Linked DNA regions of Homo sapiens: region 1 is linked to region 2. The links are contacts of gene promoters, found by promoter capture Hi-C in human tissues and cell types (Jung and others, 2019). All regions are on one chromosome and are shown on one strand. The core of a region is centred on a gene start or on the middle of the fragment in contact, and the rest is flanking DNA. Distances in the headings are between cores, read along the strand shown.

Region 1 (4,021 bases), core at 616-3,115, 1.7 Mb after region 2:
GAAAGAAAGAAAAAGAAATAGCAAGCAAGTGAGCTACGAAGCTCCCGTAAGGATCCACTAGAGAGAAAGGGGATGAAGACAGAGAGTGTGGGAATATGCTGTAGAGTGAAGACTGAGAAACTAGGGGGAAGCACAAGTGGAGAAATTAGCTTTAAACTGCCAGAGCCAGCATGCAGTGTTCATTGTAATAGCAGGGAAGGAGGCAAAGAAGGGGGTAGATGCAGTTGGATTTGGAACTGGTATCTAATGGATCCTGCTGAGATCCACTATTGGGACCTCCCCAGAAGGGAGATACGGGTGGGATCTGAAGCTTGATAAGAGTAGATTAGGTTTGGCCGGGCGTGCTGGCTCACACCTGTAATCCCAGCACTTTGGGAGGCCAAGGCAGGCAGATCACGAGGTCAGGAGTTCGAGACCAGCCTGGCCAACATAGTGAAACCCTGTCTCTACTAAAAATACAAAAAAAAAATTAGCCGGGCATAGTGGTACGCGCCTGTAGTCCCAGCTACTTGGGAGGCTGAGGCAGGAGAATCACTTGAACCTGGGAGGTGGAGGTTACAGTGAGCTGAAACCACGCCATTGCACTCCAGCCTGGGTGACAGAGCCGAGACTCCATCTCAAAAAAAAAAAAGAGTAGATGGCTGCTGGGAGAATATGAGTTGATCACAAAAACACAGAAGGATTTCCCTGCAGTGTTAAGGGCCCATTTGAGGTTAGAAACCCCCATTTTATGTTACATCAATATGTACATTAAATGATTTTTCTCAAGGTACACAACATAGCTCCAGAATAGGTACAGGGAAGAGGGACAGTTGAATTGATCCAGGGGATGGGGGTTGTAGCATAAGTTTGACAGGAGGACAGTGGGATAACCAGTTGAGGATATGAGCAAAAGTTTGTTTAAAATGATTTATGATGGAGTCCAATTTAGGTAAGGAAGATGAAGATAAGAGTTAGTTAACATAAAAGAAGAAAAGAGAGCTGGGCATGGCGGCATGCGCCTATAGTCCCAGCTTCTCAGGAGGCTGATGCAGGAGGATTGCCAGAGGCCAGGAGTTCGACACCAGCCTGGGCAACATAGTGAGACTCTGTCTCTTAAAAAAAGAAAGAATGAGCCAGGTGTGGTGGCTCACGCCTGTAATCTCAACACTTTGAGAGGCCGAGGTGGGTGGATCACTTGAGCCAGGAGTTTGAGACCAGCCTGGGCAACATAGCAAGACCCATCTCTATAAAAAATTTTAAAAATAGCCGGGCATGGTGGTGCATGACTGTGGTTCCATATACTCAGGAGGCTGAGGAAGGAGGATCTCTTGAGCCCAGGAAGTTGAGACTGCAGTGAGCTCTGATTGTGCCACTGCACTCCAGCCTGGATGACAGAGTGAGACCCTGTCTCTAAAACAAAAAAAGAAAAAAAAGAATGAACGAATGAAAAAGAAGAAAGTAGAGAGATTAAAGGACAAGCGAAATCAAAGCATCAAAGCTTAATAAATAACGTACTTATGGCCGGGTGCTGTGGCTCACACCTGTAATCCTAGCACTTTGGGAGGCTGAGGCAAGTGGATCACCTGAAGTCAGGAGTTCAAGACCAGCCTGGCCAACATGGCGAAACCCCATCTCTACTAAAAGTACAAAAAATTAGCCAGGTGTGGTGGCAGGCACCTGTAATCCCAGCTACTTGGGAGGCTGAGGCAGGAGAATCGCTTGAACCCGGGAGGCGGAGGTTGCAGTGAGCCGAGATCACCCCATTGCACTCCAGCCTGGGTGACAGAGCAAGACTCTGTCTCAAAATAATAATAATAATAATGATAATAATAATGTACTTATAAAGTTAAATATATACTTACTATATGACCCGGCAATCCCACTTCTAGGTATTTACTCATGAAAAATGAAATCATGTCCACAAAAATATCTGTCTGGAAATGCTTATGTATGTTTTATTAACACTTGCCAAAAACTGCAAATAACTCAAATGTGTAGCAACTAGTGAACAGATAAATAAATTGTCTTACATTCATACAATGAAATACTACTCAGCAACAGAAAGGAATGAACTACTGATGAGGGAGCAGGGACCCCTCTTATGGGCCTGCAGGCCCCCCTCACACATGAAAATAAAGGAAAATCTTGAGTTCCTTCAAGGGAAATTCCAGGCACTTAGCTAGCCCTGAGAAGTAAGTGAACCACTTGATAAGCAAGAAGGGGGTAATAGTAGCGTAAAACAATAGCCAAGGAAGTTAGAATCACAAGATATTTGGTTCCCTATAGAAACTAAAGATAACATCATAACATATGTTCCTGAGTTGTTTTTCAGAAACTCAGACCCCCACCAAACAGATCTGCTGTCTTGTAGAATTCAGATAAGCGGGAACTGAGGACTAAATTCTGACTGCTCTTCTTTGTTCTAAATTTCTTCCTGAGAGGCATAAAGGAAGTCATACCCATGGGCCAGAGCTAACATTCTTTTCTGCTGATCCCAAATTTTTAGACTTTAGAAAAAAAAATTTTTTTTTTTTTGAGGCGGAGTTTTGCTTTTATTGCCCAGGCTGGAGTGCAATGGCGCGATCTCAGCTCACCACAACCTCCGCCTCCTGGGTTCAAGCGATTCTCCTGCCTCAGCCTCCCAAGTAGCTAGGATTACAGGCATGCGCCACCGCACCAAGCTAATTTTGTATTTTTAGTAGAGACGGGGTTTCTCCATGTTGGTCAGGCTGGTCTTGAACTCCTGACCTCAGGTGATCCATCCTGCCTTGGCCTCCCGACGTGCTGGGATTTCAGGCGTGAGCCACTGCGTCTAGCCACTTTAAAACAAAATTAAAGCTTTACCTCCTTAACCAATCAGAAATCAGAAAACCTTTGAATCCACCTATGACTTCTGGGCTTCTGTTTTGAGAGGTCTAGCCTTTTTAAGTCAACTCAATGTGTAGCCTCCATATATTGATTTATGATAGTGCCTGTAACTTCTGCTCCCTGCCTTTAAAAACTCTTACATATAAGCCATCCAAGGGGTTGGGTCTTAAGCATGAGCTGCTCAGTTCTCCTTGCTTGGTGCCCTGGAGATAAACACCCTCCTTTCTCCAGCTACAAACCTCAGTGTGGATGTTTGGCCTTACTTGCTGGGCAAGCAGACCCAGTTTGATTTGGTAACAGATACATGCAATGATGTGGCTGAATCTCAAAAGCAGTATGCTAGGTGAGAGATGCGAGATGCAAGAAGGTAGACCCTGTATAATTCCATTTATGACATTCTAAAAAAAACAGAATTATAGGGACAGAAATCAGATAAGTGGTTGCCAGGGGATGGGAGTGTAGAGAAGTGCCCAAGGGAATTTGGGGGATAATGAAAATGGTGGTTACATGATTGTATTTACCTGTCCAGTTGAATATTGCATTGTATAGATTTGTCAAATGGAATTGTGCACCTTAAAAGTGTGAATTTTACCTCAATAGAAATGAAAGCATATTTCCACACAAAGACTTAGATATGATTGTTCACAGCAGCTTTATTTAAAATAGTCAAAACCTGTAACTATCTGTAATGTCCGGCAAATGGTGAGTGGATAAACAATAGTGGTTCATCCACACGATGGAATACTGCACTATCCACTGATAAAAAGGAATGCACTATTGATACATGCCACAACAGGGATGAAATCTCAAAGTGAAAGGAATGAAAAACGTATAGTATAACATTCCATTTATAGAAAATTTGAGAAAATATAAACTAATCTGTAGTGATAGATCAGTTGTTGCCTGTAAAGGGAGGAGGTGGAGAGAGGGAGAAATTACAAAGGGACATCAGAAAACTTTTGGAGGTGACAGATATGTTCATTATACTATTGCAATGATGGTTTCATGAGTGTACAAGTATGTCAGAATTCATCGGCCAGGTGCAGTGGCAACTCATCAAATTGTACTCTTTCTTTAAAATTTTTAATTTAATTTTTTTTTTGAGACAGAGTCTCACTCTGTCATCTAGGCTGCAGTGCAGTGGCATGATCTCGGCTCACTGCAACCTCTC
Region 2 (3,735 bases), core at 192-2,691:
TTGCATCATTCCAACTGTGAGCCTTCGCTGCTTTAACATCTTTGCCAGGAGGTGCAAAGTTCTCTGGGAGGGAGCTACCAATCATTTCATTTCAATTTCATACTGACAGATTGAAACATTCACGTAAGGGACACCTGTAGTACCAACCTGACTGTGAGGGGAAGCCCAAGAACTCCAGTGAGTCTGTGGACGCTACGCTGGGACACTATCTCCTTAGCCACACCTTGTCTAAGCCAGGACTACCCCAGGATTGTTTCGAGAATGATACCAGGTTAACCAAAGAAATACTTATGTAAGATACAGATAGGGTGGAAACTGGAGGCAGAGGAGTCCGCCACAATTGATGTTGATTTAGGGCTGTCGCAGGAAGACCCAGGGAAACCCACGCCAAAGTTGGGGTGGGGATGTGTCTGCCTCCAAAGTATCCTCCTTTCCATCACCCACCGCCAGAATATCTTAGCTCTTCTGCACCTCATCCGCGTAGAATACAGGTGGACTCTAGAAAGGGGACTTTCCTCGAGGTGTATGCTACAGTCTTTCAATAGTCACTCTGTAAGGGCACACAGTGCTTAAGGGCTGATAAGGTTCTTGTTCACCCACTAGCTCACTATGTCCTGAATCAAAGGACGAGGAATCCAGTCTCAGTCTGCCCTTTACTCTTTGTGACCTCGGACTAGTCACCCGGGTGCTTAGTTCCTTCGTCTCCCTATCTGTAAATTCTGAGATTACGAGGAGGCCGGGATTGAAATCCATGGCCTCTGAGCTCTAAAATCTTCTGGACCAGCAGGCACATGGAAGAACTGGACAAATGGCCGGTTGCATACACGGGGAAACTGAGGCACCGAGCACCCCGGCCCAAGGTCACTCTGGCTATGCCACTGCAGGGGCCGGGCCGAAGCCCCAGTCTTTAACCCTCCAGTCCCGAGCTCTTTCTCCTTCCGCGGAGCTGAGGAAAGCGGCGAGGAAGGTCCTTGTCCCGCTGGGAAAAGGACGGTACCCATGCACAGGGGTGCGAAAGAGGGGCCGAGAGAAGCCTTACCTTTCCAGGTCAAGTCCAGCCACTAGCACCTCTCTCTCCGAATCTTAACCCGTCACCCCCTCACGACTCTTCGAACGGCCCCTCCACTTCTACCCGGCTCGACGTGTCCACCACCGCCACCGAGGCCGAGGATTTCCCGCCCCCTCCCGCCCCCTAGCATTACCGACCAATCCCTGCAAGGGGCTGTGAAGCTCCGCCCCGCTGCGGGCTGGAGAGGCCTGACGTCACTCGGCGCTCGTGCCCGCGCGAGCCTCTCATTTGCCTTTGCCCCACCTTCTCCAGAGCCCAGTCTACTTTCGGTCCAGAGACCGTGCTGGAGTTCGCCCTGCCGGAAAGCAGCACGCCGCCGCGGCATTTTACGACGTCGGCGGTGACAGGCCCTGGGACTCTGGGAATACCCAGCTTCCTCCCCGCAACCCGGTGAAAGCCAACGCAATGTTCGGTGCGGGGGACGAGGACGACACCGATTTCCTCTCGCCGAGCGGCGGGTGAGTGACTGAGAAGTATGCGCTGGAGGGCGTGGCTGAGAGATACCGGCGGATTGTTGGAGGGGGGTCGATCTCTTCTCAGGCCTTTTCCCAACTTCCGGGGGGAGACCCTTGCCACATTCCGGTGCTCTACACCTCTCAGAATCTGGGCAGAACTTGCAACTGTGCTGACCCTGCCGATCTGAGGTTCGGGACCCGGCATCTCTCTTGGCGGGAAGATAGCCCTGGGTTTGCCTTTTGCATTCTGGGTCACAATTTCTCCGGTGAAATGGGAATGATTGCTGATGAGACTTCCTGCCTCAGAATTTTTATAGGAGTCAGCTGGGGCTGATGTGAGACTTCTTTTCTCCATGGAGAAGGCGAAGACACTTTAGAACCAGGCCTTGGTGGGTCAGCTCTAGCATTCTTCAAGGCCCAGCTCGGATGTCACGTTTTGGATGCTTTTCCTTCTGCAACCTCAGGCAGAATGAATTGCTTTCTCTTCCTTATTCCTGCAGCTAGGTGTGTTTGCCTCTATTCTTATACCCCGCACCTATTAGATTATGAGTCCTCACCGGACAGGGACTGCTTATGGTGTTCATTTCTGTCTAGCATGCAGCATGGTACCTAGCACATAGTGAGTGCTCAGGAAGTGGCTGTTGAATGAATAATAGCTGCGAAATTGCACTTTGTAAAGCTTAAAGCTTAAAACCAACGTAACAGACTTCTGTCATTCTCCAGTTTCCCCAAGCATTATATTAATATATACCAGCCTGGAATAGAAATCTTTAAAGAGAGGAAGGGTTTTGTCTCTTTTAGTAGTCAGTTTAGCCTTTTCCATTGTGTTGTGCCAGTGGACAGCTTGACTTCCTCCAAACTTGTGAGCTACCAAGCTCTGATCATTGCAGAGCTTTTCTTTGAACATATGCTTAACAAATTTTGTGCGTGCTGAAGAATGTACTGGAAAAATGACAAATGCACCACATATGCCCCTTATTCTGCTAAATGCTAAGAGGTTACAAAAATGATTAAACTGCTGTGCCTGCCCTTAAGTTGCTTCCAGATCTGTTGGGCCATGTGGTTTCTATTGCAACCACAAATACTCAGTTCTGCCTTGTAGGGTGAGAGTAGTCATAGACAATACATAAACAAATGAGTTAATAGATGAATGACCATAAAATGACACTGGCCTTCTTTTGTCCTTAAGTAGGAATTTTTGATTTACACTGACTAGCTCTATATTACCTACCTTTTAGTCTTTTTCACTCTCACCACTCTGTTCCCTTCCTACCCCGTCTTTAGATGGCCTGCATTCACTTAGTTCCACTTTGAGTTCTTTCCGTTTCTCAGTTATTTTACAGTTAAGCTGTGCTTTTGTTCCTTTTTTCCCTATTCCACTTTAAATTCGCATTCTTCACTATGTGAAAGTATTTGGGAGAAGTCTGTAATGTTAGGGCTCCCAATTTTCATGCAACAATCAGTCCAAGCTGACTGAAAATTATGGGATAGGTAATGACAGCCATGTGCTCTTTTCCAGATTCCTGGCCAGAGATAAATTCTTGGTGGCTCAACTATTCTTTTTTCCTGAGCAGGCTTCTCAAGGATCTGAGACACTTGAATTCTAGGCATGTGACTGTGCTCCTAGACATAGACAACAGCTAATTTGATGGTAAAAGACATACTGAGGAAAGTTATAGTTTATTTTTGTTCCCCACAGTTATCAGGAAAACCAAATCAAATTTAACACTGAGAATACAGAAAGTTTCACCACAATTCTCTGATTTAGCTATTCCTTTTTTGGTTTTCTCTAAGGAAGTAGAACATATGACAGTGAATACTGCAGCTACTTTTCACTTCCTCTTTTATAGCCATATATTACTGTAAGTATACTTGCTTAAGTTCCAAGTCTCTTGATTTAAACACATGATTTGCTTGATTTCATGAAGGATATTCAAGCCTAATAGAAGTAGGAGTATCTGATAATCTGCCTTCTGAGTTTCTAGGCCTCTTAGAGTTTACTATTAATCTAGAAGTAGTAATCAGGAGCCTTGTTTTTGTTTGTTAGTTTGTTTTAGCCCATTCCTCACCGTTGTGGGAAGTAATAGTAATGAACTAATAGTACTTGGCTTCAGCTAATCCAGATAGGAATAAGGCACAGTTTCTGCCCCTAAGAAACTTTTATTTTAGTAGTAGAATAAAATCAATCCAGGAATAATAATCACAAAGCAT

What was found. Contacts are between HindIII fragments. The study calls those that stand out against the background at their distance.
Region 1: a contact is called between a fragment that was not itself captured here and the fragment with the promoter of FKBP15 in region 2, in 1 of the 25 tissues and cell types used here (aorta).

Annotation. Positions count from the first base shown.
Region 1 is chr9:111,517,072-111,521,092 of GRCh38, reverse strand. No RefSeq gene overlaps it. Among named protein-coding and RNA genes, the nearest start is that of ZNF483, 6.1 kb to the left of the region's middle. The HindIII fragment of the contact is 5,739 bases long and covers 1-4,021 here.
Region 2 is chr9:113,218,983-113,222,717 of GRCh38, reverse strand. FKBP15 (FKBP prolyl isomerase family member 15) reads left to right here and starts at 1,441. Exons shown (of 28, transcript NM_015258.2): 1 at 1,441-1,527. The coding sequence starts at 1,475. SLC31A1 (solute carrier family 31 member 1) reads right to left here and starts at 1,174. Exons shown (of 5, transcript NM_001859.4): 1 at 1,040-1,174. RefSeq lists enhancers at 263-452, 1,293-1,402, 1,513-1,642. The HindIII fragment of the contact is 7,733 bases long and covers 1-3,735 here.